Regions from separate parts of the Homo sapiens genome. Here regions 1, 2, 3, 5 and 6 are each linked to region 4. Evidence: promoter capture Hi-C in 16 types of primary human blood cells and fetal thymus (Javierre and others, 2016). All regions are on one chromosome and are shown on one strand. Each heading gives the region's core, a stretch centred on a gene start or on the middle of the fragment in contact. The rest is flanking DNA. Distances are from core to core; before and after follow the strand shown.

The links. The method cuts DNA at HindIII sites, captures the fragments that hold promoters and counts their contacts. A CHiCAGO score of 5 or more calls a contact.
Region 1: a fragment that was not itself captured here is called in contact with the fragment with the promoter of KRT20 in region 4 in 12 of 17 cell types (M2 macrophages, M0 macrophages, neutrophils and 9 more); the score reaches 11.5 in M2 macrophages.
Region 2: a contact is called between a fragment that was not itself captured here and the fragment with the promoter of KRT20 in region 4, in 3 of 17 cell types (M1 macrophages, M2 macrophages and M0 macrophages). The highest score is 6.8, in M1 macrophages.
Region 3: a contact is called between a fragment that was not itself captured here and the fragment with the promoter of KRT20 in region 4, in 7 of 17 cell types (M0 macrophages, endothelial precursors, neutrophils and 4 more). The highest score is 8.8, in M0 macrophages.
Region 5: a contact is called between a fragment that was not itself captured here and the fragment with the promoter of KRT20 in region 4, in 8 of 17 cell types (M0 macrophages, endothelial precursors, M2 macrophages and 5 more). The highest score is 10.6, in M0 macrophages.
Region 6: a contact is called between a fragment that was not itself captured here and the fragment with the promoter of KRT20 in region 4, in 17 of 17 cell types (M2 macrophages, naive B cells, naive CD4 T cells and 14 more). The highest score is 14.6, in M2 macrophages.

Annotation. Positions count from the first base shown.
Region 1 is chr17:41,428,309-41,431,950 of GRCh38, reverse strand. No RefSeq gene overlaps it. Among named protein-coding and RNA genes, the nearest start is that of KRT37, 5.5 kb to the right of the region's middle. The HindIII fragment of the contact is 2,088 bases long and covers 788-2,875 here.
Region 2 is chr17:41,407,488-41,410,969 of GRCh38, reverse strand. It overlaps LOC100505782 (a long non-coding RNA gene), which reads right to left. Exons shown (of 3, transcript NR_040111.1): 2 at 653-2,549. It also overlaps the pseudogene KRT41P. Among named protein-coding and RNA genes, the nearest start is that of KRT31, 12 kb to the right of the region's middle. The HindIII fragment of the contact is 2,205 bases long and covers 234-2,438 here.
Region 3 is chr17:41,454,131-41,457,556 of GRCh38, reverse strand. No RefSeq gene overlaps it. Among named protein-coding and RNA genes, the nearest start is that of KRT32, 12 kb to the left of the region's middle. The HindIII fragment of the contact is 2,084 bases long and covers 578-2,661 here.
Region 4 is chr17:40,882,825-40,886,529 of GRCh38, reverse strand. KRT20 (keratin 20) reads left to right here and starts at 1,288. Exons shown (of 8, transcript NM_019010.3): 1 at 1,288-1,734. The coding sequence starts at 1,345. The region is part of intron 1 of LOC105371777 (a long non-coding RNA gene); the gene reads right to left. The HindIII fragment of the contact is 977 bases long and covers 390-1,366 here.
Region 5 is chr17:41,475,850-41,479,383 of GRCh38, reverse strand. It overlaps KRT35 (keratin 35), which reads left to right. Exons shown (of 7, transcript NM_002280.6): 3 at 1-37; 4 at 389-550; 5 at 898-1,023; 6 at 1,646-1,866; 7 at 2,181-2,674. The coding sequence ends at 2,328. Among named protein-coding and RNA genes, the nearest start is that of KRT35, 3.5 kb to the left of the region's middle. The HindIII fragment of the contact is 6,798 bases long and covers 1-3,534 here.
Region 6 is chr17:41,543,610-41,547,369 of GRCh38, reverse strand. No RefSeq gene overlaps it. Among named protein-coding and RNA genes, the nearest start is that of LINC00974, 9.0 kb to the left of the region's middle. The HindIII fragment of the contact is 7,630 bases long and covers 1-3,760 here.

The DNA of each region.
Region 1 (3,642 bases), core at 582-3,081, 540 kb before region 4:
ATGTCTTCAGGGTTGAATCTATTTTAGATACCTCATATAAGCAGAATCATGCAGTATTTGTCTTTCTGTGATTGGCTTATTTTATTTAGCATAACGTCTTCGAGGTTTATTCACGTTGCGTATTGCAGAATTTCGTCCTTTTTAAAGGCTGAATGGAATTCCAGTGTTTGCACATACCAATTTCTTTTTGTATTTATCTGTCAACGGACATTTAGGTAGTTTCCACATTCTGGCTATTGTGACTCCTGCTGCAATGACCACAGGAGTGTTAACATCTCTTTGAGATCCCAATTTCAATTCTTTTGGATAAATACCCTGAAGTGAGATTGTTGGCTCATATGGTAATTCTATTTTTAATTCTTTGAGGAATCTCCATACTGTTTTCCATAGTGGCTGCGTCATTTTGCATTTTCCCAACAGCGTGCAATGGTTCCAGCTCCTCTATATCCTCACCAATACTAGTTGTCTTTTTTTTTTTTTGATAGTAGCCATCCTGAGTGGTGTGAAGTGATGTCTCATGGCTTTGATCTGCATTTCCCTTATGGCTAGTGACTTTGAGCATTTTTTCATATACCTGATGGCCGTTTGTACGTCTACTTTAGAGAAATGTCTATAGAAATCCTTAGCCCATTTTTAAATTAAAAAAAATTATTTTTTACAGTTGAGTTGTAGGACTTCCTTATATATTTTGGAGGCTAACCCTTTATCAGATATATGATTTACAATTCTTTCTCCCATTCAGTAGGTTGTATTTTCACTCTGTTGTTTCTTTTGCTGTGCAAAAGCTTTTTAGTAAGACTAAACTTCTGATCTTTGCTAACTTAAATAAGTAAAAAATAAGTAATTTAATAAGCATTTTTGAATTATGAATGGTGTAAGCATGTAAACACACCAGTAACAGTAAAATCCATTAAAAAACACAACACTTATTTAGTGCTTACCATGTACTCTGTGCTAGACACTATTTTACGTGATTTACAGGTATGGATTTTTTTAAAACTTAAATCCATTAGCTAGGTGCTATTGTCACTCCATTGTGCATAAGCAGAATTTGAGGCACAGAGAGGTCAAGTCACCAGCCCAAGTTCACACAGCTAATAAATGATAGAACCAGAATCTGAACCCAGGCAGGCTGGATCCAAAATTCATTGTCTTAAACCTCTACTATGCTGCATTAAAGGATTTTGTAATAGGTCTTGGTATGAGGTAAATAAGGGGAAATTTCCTGCCTTAGCATGTAGATAAAGAAACTCTAGGATCAGGGAACAAAGGGGAGGGGAAATGAAGATAACTTTTTCAGTATTTAGTCTCTGATGACCTTAAGACCTGGGATAAGAATAAAGCAAACTAGGCAGGGCGCTGTGGCTCACTCCTGTAATCCCAGCACTTTGGGAGGCCGAGGTGGGTGGATCACCTGAGGTCAGGAGTCGGAGACCAGCCTGGCTAACATGGTGAAACTCCATCTCTGCTAAAAATACAAAAAATTAGCCGGACGTGGTGGCGTACGCCTGTAATCCCAGCTATTCAGGAGGCGGAGGCAGGAGAATCTCTTGAATCCAGGAGACGGAGGTTGCAGTGAGCCAAGATCAGACCACTGCTCTCCAGCTTGGGCAACAAGAGCAAAACTCCATCTAAAAAGAAAAGAAAAACAAAAAAAGAATAAAGCAGAATAATAATTTAAAAATACTTAAAATCAAACCAAAGTTTCCCAAGTAACTAGATTTTAAAATCCTATTTAATAGAAAAGAAAACGGTGACTTTTTTTTTTTTTTCAAAGCCTTCTGAGGTGGACTTTTGAAATGATAAAGGTGTTTTGGGTTATCCTTCCTCAGACTCTGTTTTCACCCAGCATGTCTGAGAGCCTTGCAGGCACAGTGGTATCAGGACACACTGCTGGTCGTGGTTTGCAGATGTTTTCCTGGCGTAATTCACATCAGGATGCAGTGTGTGGGCAGCTCCTGTTTCCTTAGGTGTCTTCAGAATTTTTCCTCTGCAGCTGGAGCAGGTGGTTGCAGATTAGACTCACACCCTGTGGACCGCCCAGTGCCTCTGCTTCTGTCTCACTCAGAGATGCGTCAGAACGGTCAGACTCAGAGATGCGTCTGCACCGTGGCACCAAGTGATGCTGTTCTGAACCCAGTGTTTCCCCTCTGCCTGAAGAGAGATTACAGCTCAAAATCTTTTAATCCTCAAGAGAGAAGAGGTGGCCCCTGTGAAGGAAGGAGGGCTGCAGGACTACCTCTGTCTTCTCTCTTCATCTCTGATACCTCCCTTCATGCAACTTGGAATATATGTTTATTTTCAGGGGCCAGAAACTCTTTTTAAAGAGGAGCAAGAGGGCCGGGCACGGTGGCTCATGCCTGTAATCCCAGCACTTTGGGAGGCTGAGGTGGGTGGATCACGAGGTCAGGAGTTCAAGACCAGTCTGGCCAACATGGTGAAACCCCATCTCTACTAAAAATACAAAAATTAGCTGGGTGTGGTGGCGGGTGCCTGTAATCCCAGCTACTAAGGAGGCTGAGGCAGGAGAATCGTTTGAACCCGGGAGGTGGAGGTCGTAGTGAGCCGAGATCATGCCATTGCATTGCATTGCACTGCAGCCTGGGTAATAGGGCGAGACTCTGTCTCAAAAAAAAAAAAAAAAGGGAGGAAGAGGAGGCTCATCTGATCATCTGCAATGTCAAGGATGGGCTCCTTCCCACCTACACAGCTGAGTACATCCCAGACACCTGCCTCATGCCTTCCACCTACTGCCTGTTCCTTTGAGACCAAAGAAAATCAGAAGAGCCCTCTGCTGTACGAAGGACTAGGCAGTGTCTATGTCATTATGCAAAATGGACCATGCAGAGCCCAAGCCAGAGACACATATCAAGCTTTGGAGAGGTGTGTCAGGACGCAAAGGATGCAAAGCTTCAGCTGTGATGCTTAAGAATTAACAAGTGTCATATGTTCTGAGACAGAAGGAACCATGATTTTAGCCAATGGGATAAAATCCTGCCAGAGGATAGGGTCAAGAGAGGGTTCCTATTTAGCAAATCAAAGGGAAGAATTTTAATGCTTCAATTCTCTGGATTATAGTGATGCTATGTGTTGAGGCGGAAGATAGGAACAAAGGGGTCTTTGAAGATGGAAAATGCAGATTGCACCCAGAGGCCTCTGAGGGATGGCCTGGCAGGGAGAGGCCCTCTAAGGATTGCCCCAGTAAAGAATGAGTCATAGCTGACCTCAGGGCCGCTGGAGCCACAGCTGACCCACAGTGGGTTTTCCTCTTGGGAAGAATTCCAGACCCCTTATTTCTCCTTGAGAGAATTCCAAGAGCCCAGGTTTCATCAACACCATCATCCCCTGACTCCCTTGTGGTTTTCACGGGGATGCATGTTCAACTTTTTCTCAGAGCAAAGATGTATTTATGCTGTTTAAAAATATATGCACACAGTTTTATGTATAATGTGGCATCATAACTTGTAGGGCATTTACTCTTATTTTATACATTCAGATATGTTTGGTTTTTTTTTTGAAACACTTCTTAAGGCTACACAACAGGACAGAGAAAAATAAACAGGAACATATTCAACAATTATAAAACATGATATGATAAAGAATATAAAGTACTAGTTTCCTTTCAATACTTCAAAAGATACA
Region 2 (3,482 bases), core at 87-2,586, 520 kb before region 4:
ACTTCAGCACATAAAATTCCTAAATCGTAGTCACAAAAATCATGCTATTTTCATGAAAACCATGCAAAAACCGTGCTGAGTTTATGAAAGTTGCAGTATACTGAAACTTCTGGTGCAGTAAACAGGGCAAAAGGAATATTTCCTAACATCCTTGCCAAGGCAGTGTCTATCCACACAACAGCATCAACCTCTTATGCATATCTATTGTCACCTTTGATTATCCAGTTAAAGCTTCTGAAGAGCCTACATCTTAGTTTTGGAGACAAGAAGACAAGGAATGTCAAAATAGGGGTTACAGAAACCTGGCTAGATTCAGAGAAGACCTGTGGGGAGGTTGGACAACCAGAGGAAAGATCTTCTTTAGAACAGATCCTACTTTATCTAAAACATTCATAGCCAGTCCTCTGTTCTGTGGCCTAGTTTTTTTTTTTTTTTTTTTGAGACAAAGTCTCGCTCTGTCACCCAGGCTGGAGTGCAGTGGTGCAATCTCAGCTCACTGCAAACTCTGCCTCCCAGGTTCAAGTGATTCTCATGTCTCAGCTTCCTGAGTAGCTGGGATTACAAGTGTGCGCCACCACTCCTAGCTAACTTTTATATTTTTAGTAGAGATGGTGTTTCACCATGTTGCCCAGGCTGGTCTTGAACTCCTGACCTCAGGTGATCCATCTGCCTTGGTCTCCCAAAGTGCGGGGATTACAGGCATGAGCCACTGCGTCCGGCCAGATCTTCTTATTTATATTGGGCTAAGCATCATATCTGGCAAAATGAAAGCAAGTCTTTGTTATATGTTCAGTTTGCTACTGTCTTCCATCTCCTGGTTCCTTTGACTCTATGTCTTCATCCTTTTCCAAGAAGTCTCTTGCACATCTTCCTTCCCACACCACAAAAGCATCTCTTGCACGTTTGGGAGTTTGTGTTGTCCAGGCGGATGCTGTAGGTTCAACTTCAGCCAATAAAACTTCCTCTCACCTGAGGCTATAGGTGTCTCTGGGATCAGTAAGTCACTTACTGAGCCTACTTTCTTACCCCAGATTCTGTGCACCAAATCGGAGAACAATAGGCTGGTTGTGCAAATAGACAATGCCAAATTGGCTGCAGATGACTTCAGGACCAAGTGAGTTGGGGTTGGACAGGGATGGGAAGGAGCCAAGTGAGAGTTGGGGTTGGATGGGGATGGGACAATGCCAAGTTGGCTGCTTCTGTCTCATGTGGCATCGGATGTCATTGACCCAGACCCCAACCCAGTAGTTATAGCAGAAGAGAACAAAGGGCATTAAGCTCAAGATCCTGAAAAACTATCCGCTCTCCAGTGGTTTAGCATTAACAGTTTACAACATGTGCTAGAATGCATCATCCACCTGGTAAGCAACTTGTGAAGCAGGCGGGCAGGGATAGAATCTCCTCCACAGGTGGGGACCCTGAGGCTTGGGGTGCTGGTGTGACTTGCCAGAAGCCATGTGGGTACCGAGTGGCAGAGCTGGGACTTGGCCTTAAATTTTGTACCAAATTTTCCTTTCTTGAAGCAATTTCCTGTGAAACTGTTGCCTTAATAAGGATATGTTTCTGTGCTGCAGCTTGATTAATTTGTGAGTGCTGATAATTCATAGCAGAAATCATGCTCCATAGCCTAAGATGAAAACATGTGAAAGTCAAAGGGTTGACACCACCTGAGGAGGGTCTACCCTGGGTGCTGGAAGGGCATTGTGTTTTATCATCTTTCTTCGGGGCACTGTGCAAGTCTCACTCTTCTAGAGCTAAAGAAAGCCATTTCCTTCCTCTCATGCTGGCAATGTGGCTTTTACTCTAATAGGGAATCCAGGGTCCCTTTGGGTATGGGGCTTGTAGAGAGGGGCCTGCAGTGATTGCACTGTGTTGCAAATGCCTGGTTACTTTGCCACCTCCCTTTTGGGCCATTGTGTGTAAAGGCAGGTGCTGGCTGTGTGTCCATCACAGTATCCTCAGTACCAGCTGCTCCCCTTGGTTCATCTCAGGTGCTTAGTATTGACTGAGTGGGGAACATCCTGTTGCTTTCTGGGCTTTGAGCACACTACACAGGATAAGCCAACTCACAATTAGATGGCAAAGGGCAGGCCAGTGGACTTACAGCTGCGAGCTGGGAGTCATGTCCTGGTGCCCCTTCCTGCCCTCTAACTGTCACTCCTGCACTTTCCCTGTTACAGGTACGAGAGAGAGCGCTCGCTGCAACAGCTGGTGGAGGCTGACATCTGTGGCCTGCGCAGGGTGCTAGACAACCTCACCCTCGCCAAGTGTGACCTGGAGGCCCAGCTGGAGTCCCTGAAGGAGGAGCTGCTTTGCCTCAAGAAGAACCATGAGCAGGTGTGTGACCCTTGGTGTGATGCATTGAGACTTTCTGGAGGTGAATTCAGGCTCATCTGGGGGGAAAAAACGGAGGCTTCCTTCTGCTTGGGATTGAAGCTTTGCAGGTGAGCTCTGGCTTTTGGTGGGAGATTGCTTCTCATCCACAGCTTCTGGAAGCTGCTAGGCTGGTGCAGGCAGCGGTTTATCTTCAGAGGAGCACAGGGAAATTACTGGGGAGGATGGAAAGTGGGAGTTGAGAGTTTGGGTGAAGGGCAGTTGGGGGCCCTGCAGGCGGGTCATACTCCTCTGATGCCTACAGGAAGCCCACACTCTAAGGGGTCAGCTGGGAGACAAGCTCCGGATAGAGCTGGACATTGAGCCCACCATTGACCTGAGTAGAGTTCTGGGGGAGACGTGAGGCCAGTACGAGGCCATGGTGGAGACCAATCGCCAGGATGTGGAGCAGTGGTTCCAAGCCCAGGTGAGGGGGACTGCTAAGCAGTGGGGATTGGCCTCCATCTGGGCAGGTAGGTGACCATGTTTCTCTATGCTCCAGTCTGAAGGCATCAGCCTGCAGGCCATGTCCTGCTCTGAGGAGCTGCAGTGCTGCCAGTCAGAGATCCTGGAGTTGAGACGCTCGGTGAACGCCCTGGAGGTGGAGCTTCAGGCTCAGCACACACTGGTGAGTCCCTCTGCACGCATGGGAGACCCAGCTTGGCTCCCACTACCCATGAGTAGCTCTCTGGGGTCAGTACAGGCCTCGAATACCAACCACGGACTCAGCTTAAACCTTGGTTTCAACTCTTTTGGAAGCACTTCCCTGTAGATGTGGATGCTGAGTGAATCAACATTAACTTAGGTCAGAGGGCTCTGATCTTAAAGGTCTACCATGAAGTGTGTTAGTTATTCTGGCTGAAGACAGCTAAAGGGAGTTAGATTGCTCTCTGGACCTGGCAATGTCTTGGGGTGTCACAATCTTAAGAGGTTGGAGATCCATGATTTTTAACTTGCTTCCTCCTTTCTTTGATATTATAGAAGGACTGTCTACAGAACTCCCTGTGTGAAGCCGAGGACCGCTACCGCACAGAGCTGGCCCAGATGCAGAGCCTCATCAACAATGTGGAGGAACAGCTGTCTGAGATCCGGGCTGACCTGGAGCGGCA
Region 3 (3,426 bases), core at 370-2,869, 570 kb before region 4:
GGAGCCTTCCAGATGATCTGGCTCAGCTTTCCCAGTTTTACAGAAGAGTCATCTCAGACCCAGGGAGGTGGACAGATGTGCTCACAGACACAACCAACAGGTGGAAATTGAAGCCAAGGGTTTTGACGCCAAGCCTCTTAGGTCTCTCCAAGCACTTTATGCTTTCTCCAAGCACCCTAGGTTTATTATTATTTCAGGCTAATACATATTTCCCCTCTCCTTTTCTTTCATTTCCCAAAGAAGGGAGACATTTTCTCTGAGAAGCTGAAACTTCTTCCTGGGAATATAGTTCTCTTAAAAAGCATCGCTAGCAACTACCAGACTCAGCATCTCCTCTTTCTTTGAGCACTGGGCTCAGTAAGAGCAAAGACCTTGAGCTGCAGCCCAGAGCCTCAGCAGGAATGATTGCACAGGAGTTGTGGGCCAGAAGTCCTGGACCCTGGACCCCCTGGGGACTTCCAGAGTCTCCGTTTCCCCAGTGCATATTGTTTCAGTCCAACTCGGTCCCCATTCCCACACCTGTGTGTCTCTCCCACTTGCCAAGACCTGTCTGACTCCCAAGATGACTGTTAAAGCTTTTTATATGAAACCAAGCCCCACAGCCCAGGGCCAGGAGTACCCTCCTCTGCTAGAAGTGAGGCCCATCATCTTCTGTGTCTGGATGGTACTTCAAGCCAGAGGTGTCACGAGCTACCCTCCTGCCTAGCCTGTCTCTTATTTGATGGATGAAGAAGCCGTGGGCATAGACTTTGGGAGATATTTATCCCCCACCAGCACCGGAATCTCCTGGGAACTGGACTCAGTGTACCACTCATGGAGATTCTCAGAGGAACTCTCTCCTCATATCAAAGCATTTGCATCTAATTAACTCTTTATAGGGGAAGAGTTTATAGGGAAATGTAGGCAGGACCCTGGTCAAGTCATAAAACCTCTGTCATATTTGATGTTTTGGAGAAACCCTCACAGGTATCAGGGATCCTCTCTGAGCGGGATTGGAAAAGAAAAGGGTGTGCTTTTTAAAGACACCACTTTCCCCAAGGCTATTCAAGAGTTTGGGCCTCACCCCTGCTGCTCACTGCCCTAGTGCAAAGCACCCTCTTCTGGGGGTGAGAGTGAGGGCCCATGGGCAGAACTGCCATTCAAGGAAGACTGGCCAGAGGGCGACAGCTTCCCGAAAGATCCAGGAGTTGGGTTTGGCATCTGGGAGTTGGGGCTGTGTGTGGACTCTGAATTGCACTGACTGAATCTTTCTTCACCACTATATTAGGAAACCTTTTAGAGAGTGATCAAAAAAAGAATATGCCTCTTCCAGGGTATAACCAGGAAAATCATTAATAATAAAACAATATTCTTTTTGTATTTCATAATTTTTTTTTCTTTTGGAGAGAGAGTCTCGCCCCGTAGCCCAGGCTGGAGTGCAGTGGCATGATCTTGGCTCACTGCAACCTCTGCCTCCTGGGTTCAAGTGATTCTTGTGCCTCAGCCTCCTGAGTAGCTAGGACCACAGGCACATGCCACCATGCCTGGCTAATTTTTGTATTTTTAGTAGAAATGGGGTTTCACCATGTTGGCCAGGCTGGTCTCGAACTCTTGACCTCAGGTGATTCACCCACCTTGGCCTTCCAAACTGCTGGGATTACAGGCGTGAGCCACTGCACCCGGCCTGTATTTCATAAAATGTAACACTTGAATGCAATGATATCAATTCGGCTAAACAGAAAGTTCCTAAGATCATTTGATGTCTATCTTTTTGCCCAACTGATCAAGACAAATTTGTATTTAAATAGCAGTGTCCCTTAATCATAATATGTAAACAAAGTCACCAATGAGCATCTAGGATTAATGGAGAAGATCAGTGCCTTTGGCTTCAGAAAAACTGGGCTAGACCCCCAGTTCTGCTGCTAATGTGCTGTGTGATTTTGGCAGAACTCTTAATCTCTATGCATCTCAGTCTTCTCCCCTTTAGAAATGGGAGTAATTCTACCTTTTTCACAGAGTTGTTGGGATATAGTACATATAAAAATGCCTGTCATGATGCCTGGCATATTGTAGGTGCCTGATGAATGTTGAGTAAAGAAAACATGCTTTGGCAACAAATTTCTCTTCTCTTCTGACTTTCCCCAATTACAATGGCAGCTGAGTCATATTTTGGAGCCATTCTGAAGCCCAAGTTTCAGAAACAACAACAGCAGCAGCAGCAGCAGCAACAACAACATATGGGTAGCTTTGCTTTGCTCTAAGAGCATTGGATGAACTTCCAGTCTTGGTGTAAATGCCCTGGTAGAGTGAAGGCCCTGGTGTCTGAGGCTCAGCGTCCAGTCCTGGAGTTCACCATCCATTCCCAGGTGCCCTCCCTCTGCCCAGCCCTCTGGCTCCAGAGCGGACTGAAGGTCTCCCACATGCTTAAGGGGTCCAATTTTTAAGCCTCATTCACTGTGCTGTGTGAAGCAGGGATGGCAACTACAGCTCACAGGTCAAACCCCACTGCTACTTGTTTTGGTAAATCAAGTTTTATTGGAGCATAGCCACACCCATTCATTTCCCTGTTGTCTATGTCTGCTTTGTGCTACAATGGCAGAGCTAAGTAGTTGCAGTACAAAGAGAGTATACGACTTGCAAAGCCTAAAATATTTAGCATCTGTCTTTTTAACAGAAAAAGCTTGTCCATCTTGGTGCAGAGGAAACAGAATGTGCTAGGGGCCCTGGGACCAGTCCTGGCTCTGTATCTGACTTGCTTGGCATCCCTGGGGAGCTCACTGTCCTTCTCTGGTCTCTGAAGCACGAAAGGTTGAATTAGTACTTGGAAGTTTTCTTTAGTTCTAATAACTTAGCAGTCTTTGCTCTATTGCTCTTTAGGGATTCCTGAGGCTCTTATCAGAGAATTTTACTTTTTTGGGTATTGAAGGTCAGTGGAGAGGACGATTCATCTTAGAGCCAATGCCATTCCTAGAGAGAGGCCAGATAGTCACTCAAGGAACAAAGTCTAACTTTTCAATGGGGCATCTCTAAAGAGAAAACATTTAACATTTCTTTTCACAACAGAAGGCAGTAACAAGAAGTCCAAAGTCAGCCCTTTCTTTCATAAAGTGGGGAGCTACTTCTGAGGACTGAATAACTGCTGATGGGTTGTTCTGATGGCAGAACAAATGAGGATTCATTGGGGGAAAGCTTGTGTATCACATCTGCTCCTATGGCAGGTGAATAAAAGCTCTGGGTGAGGAAACACTCACACCTGAGCACCTGGCCCTTGTCACCAATCTGCAACTCAACTGTCTAGGACCATGGCTTCTAGTTAAAGCAGAAATCCCTGCTCCTCAAGCTTTGGCAAGAGCCATTTGAAGCCTCCTTGCTCCAGACAGGCTGTGGCCAGAAACCACTCTAGAAACTCTGTACCCAATGTCTGTAGATCCCAGTATTAAGACTGGG
Region 4 (3,705 bases), core at 39-2,538:
ACAATTAATTAGATGTTTTTAGTGACTTTTCCAATCCCTTCTAATTAACTTGGAAGTGATTAACTGATTATCTAATTATATTAATTAGTGATTATCTAATTAACTAAGGAAGTGATTTACATGCTTCATGGGAAGTGTGAATTCTCAGCCAGGGGGTTTGAATGAAGGGAAGCAAGTGACTCAGGCATTTATTGGTTGCTTACAATCAGATTCCCACCGATGAGATCATGCCCATGTGTCTAGAGGTCCACACACAAGCAGCTGCCTCCAGCCCAACCCTGGAAGCTGAGTGTAGTCCCAAGTCCCCGCCTGCACCCCTTCCTATATAAACAGCCACTCTCGCTGTGATTATGGGGGCATACAAGGAAGATCAGGCTTCCATGGAAGCTTCTGCAACTGAAATCCACTGGGGACTTTAGAAGGAGCACCTGTAAGTAGCTTCAGGATGGATGGGGCAGAGTCTGTCTCATGGTGGGTGTTAAGCTGGCCTCATACAAAAGAGGAGACCCATCCTGATACCATGCCAGGTACAAAGCACTGTGTGATTTATTCTAAGTGTCTTGGTAACAGGACTTGAAGCCAGGTGGTGACTGGAAACCTAAAATGCAATATTTAGTCATAGAACATTAGAAATAGAAAGAAAATAACCTCCCAAATCATCTAATCCATCACTCAGCTAAATTCATTTAATTCACATCCCCAAACTACATCTCCAAATGTACAATGGTTTCATTCCTGGTTTAGGGATTCGAGGTTTTGTGTTTGTACAAAATATTTTAATAGTCTTATAAAATAAGATGTCCAAAACACAATAAACTTAAAAGCCAAACACAAGCAAAGCATGAAACAGAGGTTCTGAAGAGCAACTCCTCAATACAAATCAAACATTGTCCTTTATCTCCATTGTGACTTTCAGTTATGTAGGCACATCTGCCTTTTTAGATACCTAAATTATACATGAGGATTGTAAATATTCTTTGTGTGTATGTTAGGATGAAAAAAACCTGCCAAGGCAGGCGCATGGGCTAAAAGAATACACTTTCCTGTTTCCTTTTATTACCTGTTTAATTAAAAAAAAAAAAAAGTTGCCCCTGATAAAAGCCTCCAAGAAATGCCTCTAGTGGTATTTTCTGGAATTGAATTAAGCATATTAACATATTGCTATACAAAGCGGGGGGCGTGGAAGTAAGGCAAGGTGGACTGTGGTGCCAATCCTAGTGACATGTCAGCAGAGGAGGAGTTTCTTGCCTGTGGACTTCATAAAAGGCTAGCTCAACACCCTCCATGAGACACACTCTGCCCCAACCATCCTGAAGCTACAGGTGCTCCCTCCTGGAATCTCCAATGGATTTCAGTCGCAGAAGCTTCCACAGAAGCCTGAGCTCCTCCTTGCAGGCCCCTGTAGTCAGTACAGTGGGCATGCAGCGCCTCGGGACGACACCCAGCGTTTATGGGGGTGCTGGAGGCCGGGGCATCCGCATCTCCAACTCCAGACACACGGTGAACTATGGGAGCGATCTCACAGGCGGCGGGGACCTGTTTGTTGGCAATGAGAAAATGGCCATGCAGAACCTAAATGACCGTCTAGCGAGCTACCTAGAAAAGGTGCGGACCCTGGAGCAGTCCAACTCCAAACTTGAAGTGCAAATCAAGCAGTGGTACGAAACCAACGCCCCGAGGGCTGGTCGCGACTACAGTGCATATTACAGACAAATTGAAGAGCTGCGAAGTCAGGTGAGAGATGATGCTTGTGTTTCCTACTCTGTGTTTAGCTTCAAGATAAATCAAGAGGTTATCTATGTTAGGTAGGTCCAAATGGACTTTGTAAAGCAAATTAGGCTAAAATGTTACATCTATAAAAATTCTTTCATCTACCTTTAGTGCTGGAGTACCTGACTGTACAACAGGATGACCTTAAATCATGCTATTTTTAATGTTTAACACAATTACATACAAAATATGAACATTTTATCCTCCGGAATAAAATGAATCTTTGTCACAGCTTATCACATCAGGGCTAAATGTATAGTGAACAATCTTTCTGAAAAGAGCTAAAAATTAATTACGTGATAAATCTCTCTTAGTTTTTCACCTAGTCCTTATCAAGTTTTGAAACCCCAGTAAATTCAAAGACTTTTCTCCTTTTATTTAAGTAAATGTTATAATATGACTATTAGAATACTGTACTGCAGATTTAAATAGCAAAGTGATTCTGGGTGGAAACAGTGTGGCAGGAATATGGGTCTTAATGATGCCTGGATTTTTAAGTGCCCTGTTTAATAACATGACCATCAGCATCAAGCAGTTCAGAAACTACTTCTACAGTAATAAAATGTTCTATTGCCCCCAATTCATGTTTATTACAATCATATCACAACCTCCTCCTATGTCATCAAAAAAAGGGTGGAGCTCTGTATTTTATCAGTTTCATGGAATAAAAGCAGAAGACTTTGCTCCTAATTGAAAATTTCAGATATGACACAGAGCACTTGCTTCAAATTAAAGTTCTTATCTAATTAAGAAAAGTGTTCACTGTAATTTGTGTTAAGATTCATACTCCTTTAGAGCAAAGCGCATTTACTTACCAGCAAGTCTGTTTTTCTTGAGTTGTACTAAACATCAGGGCAATTTGATTCGGACTCCATGGGAAGTTACTTTGGAATTTTAGAAACTATGGGCATGTGAAGCAATGGCATTTAAATAGCCCTTCCGGAATAAAGTTCATCCTTCGCAAGCTCTCACTAAAAATGTTCGAACCACACCTGTCTCGTGTTTCTGACTCTAGTTTGGTTCATCTGAAATACACAGGCACAGGCCATCCGTCCCATTGAGCTGGACAGTCCCAACCATAGGAAGCAGCCCTCTCCAAAACTGGGTCCATTGAAAGAGAAATGTCATTGTAACATCTTCTGCAAGTAGATTTTTCATCTATATGCCTCCATCATGCATTTCGTTCTTTCATGCATCATGTTCTTTCATTCAGCCAATACTGAATGAACACTAACTAGGTGCTGGGCACCATGCTGGGGACTGAGGAATATTATGGTGGACACAATATGATTTATGAGGATACAGGGATGGACAGAGGGACCAGCACACAGAGGGATAATGAGAGCACAGGCAGATCATCCAGTTCAGTTTTGAGAGCATCTGTGAAGGCTCCTATGAAGCAATGTTGTCGAACCTGAGACATGAGGGAGGAATGGGAGTTCACCAGACCACAGGGGCTAAAAGAAATGTCCTAAGTAGAAACATCAAAGGCAAGGCACTCAATAAGGTGTGATGACTCAAGTTGAGTTAAATTATCCTTCTGTAAAATCACAAGAAAGTAGACCAAACCCTGGGGCATCTAGAGTTGCATTTTATGACTCTGTTATGTTAAATAACTATGTCATTATTTTTTCTATATATTTTCATGTAGAAATACTTGAAATGAACATCATTTTTGACATAATAGTCACTGTAGCTGGGGATAAACTAAATCCTTGTAAACTCCTATCCAGTTGAAAATGTCATTCTTGGCCGGGCACGGTGGCTCACGCCTGTAATCCCAGCACTTTGGGAGGCCGAGGCAGGCAGATCACCTGAGGTCAGAACTTCAAGACCAGCCTGGCCAACATGGCAAAATGCTGTCTCTACTAAAAATGCAAAAATTAGCCGGGCATGGTGGCGGATGCCTGTAACCCCAGCTACTCGGGAGGCTGA
Region 5 (3,534 bases), core at 552-3,051, 590 kb before region 4:
GGAGGAGCTGCTCTGCCTGAAGAAGAACCATGAGGAGGTGAGCATGGGGGAAAAGGTGAACACGGCACAGCAGGTGAGCATGGGGGAGGAGGTGAACATGGGGAGGAGGTGAGCATTGGGGATGAGGTGAGCATAGGGGGAGGTGAACATGAGGGAGCAGGTGTGCATAGGGAAGAGGAGGTGAGCATGGGGAGCAGGTGAGCATAGAGAGCAGGTGAGCATGCAGAGGAGGTGAGCATGGGGAGGAGGTGGGCATGGGGAGCAGATGAGCATGGGGAGGAGGTGAGCATTAGGAGGGGTGAGCATGGGGAGGAGGTGAACATGAGGAGGAGGTGAACCTTGGAGGCAGCCCTCTGGGAATTAGTACTCATCCTGGTCTGTGCTATAGGAAGTGAACTCACTGCGCTGCCAACTTGGTGACCGCCTCAATGTTGAGGTGGACGCTGCCCCACCTGTTGACCTGAACCGAGTTCTGGAGGAGATGAGGTGCCAGTATGAAACCCTGGTGGAGAATAACCGCCGGGATGCTGAAGACTGGTTGGACACCCAGGTAGGTACCTGGAAACAGTCAGTGCAACAGGGGTATGTGGTGGCTCACATGGAAGTGACCCTGGGGCTCTGAATCAAGAAATCTAACTTTGAGTCCCATCTCTGTTTTGACCTTGCTGACAAGGTCAAAACAGACCCACTTCAATTGACCTTGCTGACAAGGTCAAAACAGACCCACTTGGGCAGGTTGCTGTCCTCTGAGCAACAATGCCCTCCAGTATAAAATAAATGAGTGGGACTGGGGAATCGGGAATGTCTTTCTTGGCTCATGATTCTAACCGGCCTCTGTAGCTCTCTGAAGCCAAGTCCCTGGTGTGGCTGACCAGGTTCTGTGTGTGTATGTTTCAGAGTGAGGAGCTGAACCAGCAGGTGGTGTCCAGCTCAGAGCAGTTGCAGTCCTGCCAGGCAGAGATCATCGAGCTGAGACGCACGGTCAACGCCCTGGAGATTGAGCTGCAGGCTCAGCACAGCATGGTGAGCCCCAAGGCAGGGTGGAGCTGCCTCTGGACCAAGCCGAGGAGCACACAAGCTCCCCAGCTTCCATGCTTTGACCACACAGGCGGACTCCAGGGGTCCATGTTCTTGAGCACCAGGGGTTCTCTATGCAGAAAAGAGGGAATGAGGGACCAGCTCCAGTCACAAATCCCCCAGTGGTAAAGGACAAGAGACCTGTAGCAACTGACATGTCCAGGCAGTAGGTCCTATATTTGTGCAAGCAGATACATCTTCTGAGTAACTATCAGTTACTCAGAGATGACACTAACAGGGAGATACTTTCTAGATCAAAGAAGCCACAGGGGCTAATTAGCTCATCTCAAGTGAGATGTCTGATTGTGGTTCATCCTAGCTCAAACTCTGATTCTCCGAGCTTCTGTTCTTGGATTCTGAGGCCTCACTGAGACCCAGATTCCTTCCTTGCTCCTTCTCTGACCTCTAGCCTTTTTCCTCCCTACACAACTCTTGACCTCACAGAGAGATGCTTTGGAATCCACCCTGGCAGAGACGGAGGCCCGCTATAGCTCCAAGGAAGATTCCTTCCTTGCTCCTTCTCTGACCTCTAGCCTTTTTCCTCCCTACACAACTCTTGCCCTCACAGAGAGATGCTTTGGAATCCACCCTGGCAGAGACGGAGGCCCGCTATAGCTCCCAGCTGGCCCAGATGCAGTGCATGATCACCAACGTGGAGGCCCAGCTGGCCGAGATCCGGGCTGACCTGGAGCGGCAGAACCAGGAGTACCAGGTGCTGCTGGACGTCCGGGCCCGGCTGGAGTGTGAGATCAACACGTACCGGGGCCTGCTGGAGAGTGAGGACAGCAAGTGAGTATCACTGCATGTGCTCTTGTCTTCTCACTGCAATCTACCAAGTTCTGGGAAGACAGCATGGTGCCTAGAAAGAGCCTGGCATTCGGAGTCTGGAGTTCTGTTCTCTTAGTTCTGGTCTTCCTGAAAACTCATCACGTGACTCCAGCAAGCCCCCTTTCCTCTCAGGGCCTGTTTCCCTTTTGGTAAAACAAGGGGGCAGGATCAAGGTGGTTTTTAGGGTGCTTCCCAGTTTGCATAGTCTAGGATCTACTTTGAGTTACTGCAAACAGCAACTGGAAAATCACAGTAATTTGTTTTCTTTTTTCTAGGCTCCCCTGTAACCCATGTGCACCTGACTACTCACCCTCCAAGTCATGCCTTCCCTGTCTTCCTGCGGCCTCCTGCGGTCCTAGTGCAGCCCGCACAAACTGCAGCCCCCGCCCCATTTGTGTGCCCTGCCCAGGGGGTCGGTTCTGAGAGCGGGTGACCCAGATGGCCATGGCTATTGTCTCCAGGGCTTGAACTTGGCCTCTACCCAAACTTAACCCTTGTAGCCCAATCCCCTCTCTTCGCGCAGAGCCCAGGCCCAGGGTCTGGCTGAAAAGGCTTTCTGCAAATACATGCCCTAAAGTTTCTCAGAGCCTGTCACAAAGGCCGGCTGCCCCCAAAGGTCTCAACTCCTCATCATTTCAATGGGTGCCAGGGTCTCTGTTCTCAGGCTGCCTCCTGGGTCAGGTTTTCCTTCTAGGTGCTGTTCCGGTGGATTCTGAAATGCAGTAGAGGGCTTTTGTTGGCAGAACAATAAAGTGCATTTGCTCAGGCCCCTGATGCCTAACTTGCACCATTCTGGTGTTGTTGGCTTGTGTCTCTGCTGTGTCCAGGGGGTGACTGTTGGGCAGCCGAATGGGAGATGTGTGACCAAGTATGACCCTTTGGATGACAGGGTCACTATGCCCCTGTTTGGGGTGGGTAGAGGCCTACAGTGAGAGCTTTTGCTTGGCTTCCCTGATGAAGACCTTTCTCCAAGATTCCAGTGTGGTGCCAGGTGTTTTCAGACTGCTGTGGAATCCCTCTTAGTATACGTGGTCACCTGGGGATCCCAGAGTGGGAGGGACAAAACTGAGATGGAAACTGAGATCAGCATAACAGGGAGGGTTTTAGGCCACTTTATCAGCCTCTTGTCTGTGGTCCTTGTAAGACCGGCGATAGGGTGTCTCCCTCCCAGGGTACTTTTAGGGGTGCATTTACATAAGCCCCCTACCATTGCAGCCCTTTCATGCAGCCCTCCAAGTTCAGCAACCCCCTTAACAATCCACAGCCCATCATAAGCAGGAGATGGAGAGTGTGCTCGCCTTCAGGGCTTCTATCCCGAATGCTAAGGCTCTTGTCCTTAGGAGGCTTGTGCATGTGCTCCTGTGCTCTTGGCATCTGGTGAGGTGTACAACGAGCCCTCCTCAGATGGGTGTGAGAGCTCCCAGCAGCTTGACCCAAAGGCTCTCATCTGTGTCCAGAATGTCCTCCCCAAACAGGCAAGGCAAATAGCAAGTTCCCTTAATCCCAGTGGGAAAGGGAGAAGGGCCAAGACCAAAGTTTCTGAGCAAAAAACGAGGATGTGCGTTCCCAGTTGGCATGTGCTCCTCATAAGATGCTGAGAGCACCTGCTAAGGAGCTTCAGTGATGTTA
Region 6 (3,760 bases), core at 205-2,704, 660 kb before region 4:
TGCTGCCTACTGATGGATGGCTGATTCCAATGGGGCAGTTGGAGGGAAGGGAGCCAGTGACACAGGGATCATCCTTCCAGGTACAGAGCAGGACAGAGGAAGGTGGAGAGTAGATCTAAGGATCCAGGGAGAATTATCAGCCCAACCAGTGGTTGGGCAAGGGGGCACAAATATGAGCCAGACCCCAGCCTCAAGGAGCTCACTGGCTGGTAGAGGGGATAAGAGCCAATGAATTCTCACCCATATAGGAAGAGGACAGTGCCTGGGAGAGGGTCAGGTAAAGCACCAGAGGGGCTCAGAGGAGGAAGAGCGAGTGCCAGGGATCACAAAGGCCTGAAGGAAGAGGTGATGTATGAGTTCCACGTTGCTGCTGTAACAAGTGGTGGCAAACTCAGTGGCTTAAAACAACACAAACTTACTATCTTCTAGGCCTGGAAGTCAGAAATCTGAAATGGGCCTTATGGGCTAAAATCAAGGTGTCATCAGAAATGCTTTTTTTCTAGGGGCTCTACGGGAGAGTCTGTCTCCTGGCCTCTTCCAGCCTCCAGGGGCTGCCTGCCTTCCTTGGCTTGTGGGATCTTCCTCCTTCAAAGTGCCTCACTTTGACCTCTGCTTCCATGGTCCCAGCTCCTCTCTGTGACCTTGACCATCTCGCCTCTCTCTTACAAGGACCCTTGTGATTACTTTGGACTCAATCGGATAATCCAGGATAACCCAACCCCCATTCCAAGATCCTTAATGTAATCACATCTGCAAAGTCTCTTTCTGCCATGGAAGGTACATGCTCACAGGTTCCGATTGGCGTATCTTTGGAGGGCCATTATTCTGTCTACTCCAGGCAATGGTGAAGAGGCACAGTTTCAACCTGTGACGGCTGAGGGGAAGGACCCTGCAGGTGGATAGGATAGCCTGAGTAGAAGCAGGCATTTGAGAACCTAAGCACTATTGGCCAGCACCTGTGAGTAATTGCAGGAAGACTGTGATTTTGGGGGACAGGGCTGGAAAGCCAGCCTGGACATGGCCAGTGCCTTGCTCCATTTCCAAATAAATGCAGTTGGCCTCTGAGGCTTAGTGGCAACCGTCAGTGCCTGTGGCATGGCGGGGCTGGCGGGGGGCCTCCTGGATGTGAGGTGAGCCTTGCTGTTCAGTGTCCATCCCTCCCCGACCCACACTTCTCCAGGCCCAGCACGGCTTTATTCAGGACCTGCATGGTGAGTCGGACCCTCGCAGTTGTCCCCTCCGTGAGGCCCTCCATTGGCCCGTCTCTTATCCACCCACACCCCCACTGCCAACAGGCCCGCAGGCAGCACTTGTCCCCTCCCCTGCCTTCCCCAGCCTCCAGGCCTCCAACTCTCCCAGTGTTACGCCTCCAACACACTGAACTGCTCCCTCCCTGAACTCCCCGCATTGTCTCACCTGGCCAGGCCATTTCCCACAGCTTTCCCTGTGCCAGAAACACCCACCACCCGAGCCCTTTTCTTCCCACTCCTCATTCTTCAAATCTCAGCTTTTTGGAAGAACACTTTCCCCTTCCCTCCACCCCACCGCACAGGGAGCAGTGAGCGACTCCCACAAAAATCTTTTTTTTTTTTTTTGAGACAAGGTCTCACTCTGTCACCCAGGCTGGAGTGCAGTGGTGTGATCATGGCTCACTGCAGCCTCAACCTCCTGGGCTCAGGTAATCCTTCCACCTCAGCCTCCCGAGTAGCTGGAACTACAGGCACATACCACCATGCCCTGATCATTTTTTGTAGAGATGTTACCTAGGCTGATCTTGAACTCTTGGACTCAAGCAGTCTACCTGCCTCGACCTCCCAAAGTGCTGAGATTATAGGTGTGAGCCACTGTGCCTATCCTCTCACAAAATCTTTTATAAAAACCCATACCTGGCCAGGTATGGTGGCTCATACCTGTAACCTCAGCACTTTGGGAGGCCGAGGCAGGCAGATTGCTTAAGCCCAGGAGTTCAAGACCAGCCTGGGCAACATAGCAAGAACAGGTCTCTTAAAAAAAAAATTGGCCCAGGCATGGTAGTGCATGTTTGTAGCCCTAGCTACTGAGGAGGCTGAGGCAGGAGGATCACTTGAGCCCAGGAGTTTGAGGCTGCAATGAGCTAGGATTGCGCCACTGCACTCTACCCTGGGTGACAGAGCAAGACCCCATCTCAACAAACAAAAAACCCAAAAAACAGAACAGAAAGCTCCTCCCAGCCCACACCTGCTGAGTGGTTGTCCCCTGCGGTGATGACTGACACATGCCATTTAACCTTCATGTTGCTGGTAATAGCTCTTGATTTTATGGAGTGCCAGATACTGTGCTTCACACCTGATTTTTCATTTATTCCCCCACAAGCCCTCTGAGGTTGGTGTTATTAGCCTCATTTCAGAGGCGGGGACACTGAGGTTCTGACAGGTGAGGTAACGGCCGTTGCATGACATGGCTTTGAAATAAAATGGTGGCTCTGTGAATCAAACCCAGGCCACCCTGGCTCCAAGGCCTGGGCTCTAAACCACATGCCACACTGGTGTGATTATGGTCCATGTTTTATAGGGGAGGAAACTGGAGCTTAGGGAGGTGAATACCTGGGCCTGGCTAATGAGTGGCTCTCACCCCAAGGCGTGGCTCTTTTCAAAGGCCAGGCCTGTCACTGCCTTGCTACATGGTCACTGATTAATCTTGCCTGCTACGCTATACTGCTGGGCCTCTCTTTTGTAGCTATTTGTGTAGATCTTTCCCTCCCCCATTCTCCCCTCTCCCATCTGCTGGGAGCTTGTTGGGGGCTGGGCCTGAGTCTGTTTCGTCTCTGAATTCTGCATGTGGCATAGGGCCTGGCTCAGAGCCCACGCACAGCACACGAGTGAATGAGGGAATGAATGGTGTTTCCTGGGCATGGCTTTGGGAAAAGCAAGAAACTGCTCAGAGTGCCCATCGGCAGCCAGTAGATCCAGAGAGGCTGAGGCTGTGAGCTCCTGCAGGGCCCAGGCCTGGGGTCCCAGCACCACCTCAAACTTCTTGGCAGATCTGAATGCCCAAGTTAGGTTTTGTTTTTTTACAGATATATAATTTTGTACTGAATTATGCATGTATTATTTCTTCCCAAATATATATATAATGCATGTATTCTTTCCAAATATATGTAATATATATTATATAATGTGTAATACATAATTATTACATGTAATATATTATATAATGTGTAATACATAATTATTACATGTTATATATATTATGTATTATATATAATATATAATTCTGCATTATATATTATATATATATAAATATATTTGGGAAGAAGTAGTACATGCATTATATATATATACATTTTGGAAGAAGAAATACATGCAAAATTCAGTATAAATATATATATATTTGGGAAGAAGTGATAGATATATAATTCAGTACAAAATTTTAAAAGTACAAAGGATATTCAGCAAAACATTAGTCTCTCCGTTCTTTGAATTCAGTCTCCCAGCTCCGTTCCCAGAAGCATCCCCTGCTATCTCACTTGCTTGTGTATCCTTCTAAAGAACCCAATGCATTTACCAACATAGATGTGCATATCTTCTTCCCTGGCACACACATAAAAATAATAGCAAACTGTCTATATTACTGTACCATCTTACATTTTCATTTAATAAAATACTTTGAACATCTTTCCTATCAATACTATACAGAGCTGACTCATTCTTTTTGATGGTGGCACAGTATTCTATTGCATACTTATCATATGTATTTATTGTATGTATCATATAATGAACAT